Linked DNA regions of Homo sapiens: region 1 is linked to region 2. The links are contacts of gene promoters, found by promoter capture Hi-C in blood cells and fetal thymus (Javierre and others, 2016). All regions are on one chromosome and are shown on one strand. The core of a region is centred on a gene start or on the middle of the fragment in contact, and the rest is flanking DNA. Distances in the headings are between cores, read along the strand shown. Region 1 overlaps CATSPERG (catsper channel auxiliary subunit gamma). Region 2 holds the start of SIRT2 (sirtuin 2).

Evidence for each region. Contacts are between HindIII fragments. The CHiCAGO score rates a contact against its expected background, and 5 or more counts as called.
Region 1: a fragment that was not itself captured here is called in contact with the fragment with the promoter of SIRT2 in region 2 in 1 of 17 cell types (non-activated CD4 T cells); the score reaches 5.4 in non-activated CD4 T cells.

The regions. Positions count from the first base shown.
Region 1 is chr19:38,342,033-38,344,886 of GRCh38, reverse strand. CATSPERG (catsper channel auxiliary subunit gamma) reads right to left here. Exons shown (of 29, transcript NM_021185.5): 4 at 1,163-1,307; 5 at 768-894; 6 at 519-591. Among named protein-coding and RNA genes, the nearest start is that of CATSPERG, 7.6 kb to the right of the region's middle. RefSeq lists an enhancer at 593-1,542. The HindIII fragment of the contact is 5,142 bases long and covers 1-2,854 here.
Region 2 is chr19:38,898,068-38,900,874 of GRCh38, reverse strand. SIRT2 (sirtuin 2) reads left to right here and starts at 1,257. Exons shown (of 16, transcript NM_012237.4): 1 at 1,257-1,369; 2 at 2,450-2,496. The coding sequence starts at 1,354. It overlaps NFKBIB (NFKB inhibitor beta), which reads right to left and starts at 906. Exons shown (of 6, transcript NM_002503.5): 1 at 664-906. The coding sequence starts at 842. The HindIII fragment of the contact is 23,515 bases long and covers 1-2,807 here.

The DNA.
Region 1 (2,854 bases), core at 65-2,564, 560 kb after region 2:
ATATGTGTGTGTGTGTGTGTGTGTGTGTGTCTGTTCATGTACAGGTATATACATATATATGTATGTACAGGTATGTACTATATATGTATGTACAGGTATGTACTATATATGTATGTACAGGTATGTACTATATATGTATGTACAGGTATGTACTATATATGTATGTACAGGTATGTACTATATATGTATGTACAGGTATGTACTATATATGTATGTACAGGTATGGATGTACAGGTGTGTATAGGAGTCAGACAGATAACTTCAAGACTCCCTCCATGCTGAGGGACTATGGGAAAATGGTTCCATCCCTTTGGGACCTCAGTTTTCTCCTCTTTATAATGGAGTATGTGAGAGTACGTCCCCTCGACAGGTCACTGGGGAGATTAATGGGATCTTCATGTGGGGCCTGGCATGAAGTTGGTGCTCCCTAAATGGGATCTGCTGCTTGTCTGGGAAGTAACCAGGGCGTCAGCCTAAGGCCCAGACCATTGTCTTTTTCCCCTGCCATATTCCCTCACCTCCTCTCCCACAGTGAATTGGATGTTATTGTCCCGGTCTCTCTTCAGGAAGCCGTTGATATTCATCTGGAACCTAGCAGCAGGTGCAGAATAGGCGCAGGTGAGGTCCCAGTGTCAGGGGTTCCACAGCTCGTAGCTGCCTCTCCTCTCCCCATTCTCTCCCTTGGATCTCCCACTGGCTCCTCTGGGGACCCTGGGGTGAGGAATTCCCCCGGAGTCCACCCCAGCCCCCGTCTTGGGAAAGGGTACCTTTTATCTGGAATGAAGGTCCCCAGGCCATTGCTGCTGATGTCCACACGCATGACCACACTGCCTTTCTTGATGGGCATGGGCGTGTACCAGCTCATGCTACACACTTCTTCTGCCATGCATGGCTCTGCAGGGAGGCCCTGGGCACTGAAACTGCTGGGGCCTCCCAATGGCCGGTTCCAGGCCCCAGACCACCCTGGGATCTCCCCACAACTCCCCATACCTGCCTCCACGCCATGGGTCCCACTGGGGCCTCTGTGTGGCCCCTCTAGGCCATGGAATGTGCTGAGCTCCCGCCCCCCACATACCCTCCTCAGATCATGGCCCCACAGAGGCCCCCAGCAAACCCCACACCCCTGCCAGGTTGCGATCCCTCCCGCCTCCCCCAGGCCCACCTTTGCTGCGGAAGGGGGCAGCCTCCATCTGGATCTGCAGCTGCTCTATCTTCCAGCGGTAGAAGTTGACTGGGGACTGGAAGGTGACCAGCACCAGGGGCTTTAGCCCCGTCAGGTGGCCCATGCGCACCAGGTCCTCAGAGGGCTGAGGGTGAGATGGCCCCACAAGTGTGTCCTTATGGTAGCCTCTGGGTGCCCCCTGCCTTAAGCCCGCCTCTAACAGTCTGTCTCCTGGGCTGTCCGGGGGCAGCACACTGTCCACCATGTGATGGTCAGAGGACATGGTCTAGGTTTGGGGCTTGGATGGGGGATGGAACAGCCTAGGAGGGGGCAGAGGGGTAAGGGGCTGTGGAGGGAGTCGGAGGCCTTCCTGGAGGAGATGACTCCAGAGCCAGTGTCTGCAGACAGAATGTGCATGTAGGGAATACATAGGGAAGGGCAGCATGGGATGAACAAAACTGTGCAGGTGGGAGGGATGCTGGGAAGGTGGGAGGGATGTGGCACCCAGGGTGCTGCTTTCCACTCCAGGGATTCCCAGTTCCAGGCTTAAAAAAAAAAAATTAGATTGCCCAGGCTGGTCTTGAACTCCTGGTCTCAAGTGAGCCTCCCACCTTGGCCTCCCAAAGTGCTGGCATTAAAGGCGTGAGCCATCTCATCTGGCCCCCAGTCTCACTCTTGAGGTGGGCTTCCACCCTCTCTGCAGCAGACTTTCTGCCACCTATGCAAGTCAGAGGACAGCCAAGTTCTGGGCCTTGAGCTTGGGGTGAGTGTAGGATGGGGCGATTACACAGGAAGGGACTGAGGACGAGGGTGACAGGGCATGCCTGGACAACCTCCCAGGGATGCGGGATCCTGGCTGAATAGAAAAGGGTGGGGAGCGCTTAGAGTGGAGATGGGAGAAGAGGAGAAGGATGTTTCAGGCATGCAGAACAGCACCAGTGAAGGCTAAGAGGCGTCCCCGAGAGAAGGCGGCACTCAGGCCACCAAGGGGAGGCCTTGGTTGCTGTGGGACCAGGGCGAGGGATTTACCAGATTCAGCACCTGTGCACAGCCCTTCATCGAGAGGGCTGACTTTCTTTACTTTCTTTGCCAGGCTCCTTTCTTTTCCTTTTTTTTTTTTTTTTCAAGAAGGAGTCTCACTCTGTCGCCCAGGCTACAGTGCAGTGGCATGATCTCGACTCACTGCAGCCTCTGTCTCCTGGGTTCAAGTGATTCTCCTGCCTCAGCCTCCTGAGTAGCTGGGACTACACACGTGCACCACCATGCCCAGCTAATTTTTGTATTTTTAGTAAAGATGAGGTTTCACCACGTTGGCCAGCCTGGTCTCAAACTCCTGACCTCAACTGATCTGCGCGCTTCGGCCTCCCAAAGTGCTGGGATTACAGGCATGAGCCACCAGGCCATTCTTTCTTTGAAAACTGTTTAATTTTTGTAGAGACAGAGTCTACTCTGTTGCCCAGGCTGGCTATTTCTGTAATTTATTTATTTATTTATTTATTTATTTATTTTTTACATGGGACAGGGTCTTGCTATGTTGGCCAGGTTGGTCTTGAACTCTTGGCCTCAAGCAATCCTCCAGCCTTAGCCTCCTAAAATGCTAGGATTACAGGTGTAAGCCACTGCACCTGGCTTTTTTTTTTTTTTTTTAAGATAAGGTCTTGCTCTGTTGCCCAGTCCGGAGTGCAGTGGTGC
Region 2 (2,807 bases), core at 8-2,507:
AAATGTATGCTCCACAAGGGCTTAAGTTTTTGTTTGTTTTCTTCACTGCCTTTATCACTAGCACCTAAACGGAGCCTGGAACGTGGTAATGTGTAAAGAATATTTGTTTAACAGATGAATCCTTGGTCTCATGGAGCTAACATTCTTTTTTTTAATTTTCCTATTTTTTTACTTTAATTAGGAATTCAACATAGAAGAGCTTACATTCTCTCTCTTTGAATTTAAGATTTGAAGAACACTGCTCAGAAGACAGGATCTTAGAGTCAGGGACCAAGTATTAATTTCGGAAATCAAACTCTAGGGCTCAAATCGGGAACTAAGAATCAAAGATCATATTTGGAGGTTAGAAGTCAGGAGAAGCCACAGTTCTAACAGAAGTCTCAGGACTGGAGTCAGGTTTGGGTATCAGTGGATACAATGTGGATTCCAGGAGCTGAGAATCATAGTTCAAGAAAAGAAGGTAAGAAATGATTGGGTTAGGATCATAGCTAGATAGAAGATTGGTTTTGTTAAAAGTTAGGACTCGGGGGTTAGAGGTCAGGAAGTTCAGCATCGGAAGTCAGATTTAGGAGTATGAGGTTAGGAAGCCTCAGGGATCAGAGATTAATGAGGAATGTGACGCCGGGTCCTAGGGCTCCGTTTGGCAGCCTAAGGTTCACTCACGTGTCCCCATCCTCAGTGACGTAGCCGAAGACGAGGGGAGCCCACGACAGCCCCGGGCCCAACTCCGCGCCCAACCCAGGTCCTCCGGGGGCCGCTGCGTCCGGACCCAGGGAGCCCAGGCCGCTGTCGCACCATTCATCTGCGTCGGCAGCTTTTCCCAAGCACGCGACCCCAGCCATGGCCCCCGCCGCCTCAGGGGCCCCCCGCAGTCGCCCGCCTGTAGCTGGGCTTTGCCGGGAGTTCTGGAGCTTCCGCCCTGCGGGAAATTCCCCACCACGCCCCCTGATTCACCCAATGATAATATGCTGAATCGCTCACACCCCGCCCTCGTACTGCATCCTGACCAATCAGAGTATTCGGGAGGACTACAACTCTCTAGCCGTTCCCACATTTTCCGGGCGCCCTTTACCAACATGGCTGCTGACGCCACGCCTTCTGGGACTCGTAGTCCGGTCCTCGCGCGCTTTCTTACCTAACTGGGGCGCTCTGGGTGTTGTACGAAAGCGCGTCTGCGGCCGCAATGTCTGCTGAGAGTTGTAGTTCTGTGCCCTATCACGGCCACTCCCATTTCTGGTGCCGTCACGGGACAGAGCAGTCGGTGACAGGACAGAGCAGTCGGTGACGGGACACAGTGGTTGGTGACGGGACAGAGCGGTCGGTGACAGCCTCAAGGGCTTCAGCACCGCGCCCATGGCAGAGCCAGACCGTGAGTCGGGGATCCGGGTAGGAGGGTCGGGCCGCGCCGGGGCCTGGCTGAATGCTGCAGGCCCCGGGGCCCAAGGGTGGCCGCGGTGGGGCGGGAAGTAGGGAGCGCTTCGGGGAGTGGGATTCTGAGGGCTGTTGCTTAGCGATCTGTATCGCTAGGCTGGTGGGTTTCTGGGTCGCAGTGTGTTCAGGGTTCGTTTACCACATCCACTTGCCAAGTTGCCAATGATCGCGTGTTTCTCGCACCTTGGTTGCTAAGGTCCCTCGCTGCAAAGAACATAAGTTGCCCCGGTCCCGCTTGCTATGGGTACCTGATTGTTAGAGGCAACCAGAGGATGCTGAGGGACCCCTGCTGACCCCTCCTATGGCTTCCCCTTGTTCCGCGCCTCTCCTAAACCTACCGCCTCCACTGCACCACTGCACCTCCCTCCTAAACCTGCCTCCCAGCCAAAGCGTCTCTTCCCTTCTCTTTTCCTTTCTAAACTTCCCTCTGCCTTGTAAATCTAACCCTCCCCGCACACACACTCACACACTGTCGTGTCCTTCCTAACTCCTCCTGAGTGTTCCTTCATGCCCTGAATCCCCTAGGTAGGAGGAGGAGGATCGCTTGAGCCCAGGAATTTGAGGCTGCAGTGAGCTATGATCGCACTATTGCACTCCAACCTGGGTGACATGAGCGAGACCCTTTCTCTAAAAAGTAAAAAAGAAAGAAAGTAAGTCAGGGCCAGAAACAATGGCTCATGCTTGTAATCCCAGTACTTTGGGAGGCCAAGGTGGTTGGATCGCTTGAGCCCAGGAGTTCAAGACCAGCCTGGGCAAAAGCCCCTACTTTCTCCCTGTCCCCCTAAATCTTCCTCTCCAGCCTCTCTGCCCCTCACTAATCACCTCTCCCGGCATCACTTTGCATGTAGATAAGATCTTTTCTCCGTCCCCTCCCTCCCTCTGCTCCATTTTTACCACCATCCCATCCCAGTGTAACTAGGTTGGTGGGTGTTCTTGCCCCCTCACTGACCATTTGAACCCCTTTATTCCCCCCTTAATCGTTCTCCCCACTGTAACCACCTCTGCTCCCCTCCCCCAGCCTCTCACCCTCTGGAGACCCAGGCAGGGAAGGTGCAGGAGGCTCAGGTGAGATGGGGGAAAGGGTGGAGGGGAGGAGAGAGACGGACTTGTTCCACATCCCACACTGGGGGGAGGTGGCAAAGGGGAAACAGTCACCCCAGGGCCCTCGGCTCATTGCCCCAATCCCTCACACCACCCAGTGCAGCTTTCTGGGGAAAGGCAGATTCTGGGGATTGTCAGAGAAGAGTTTCCAGCCTCAAGTCCAGGCCTGTCCTCCCAAACTTTCCTTCTTCCTTGCCACTGCCTGCCATCCCTTCTGAACCACATTTGTCCTGGGACTGGAAGAGACAGGTATCCCATTTGGTCTTGGAACGCAC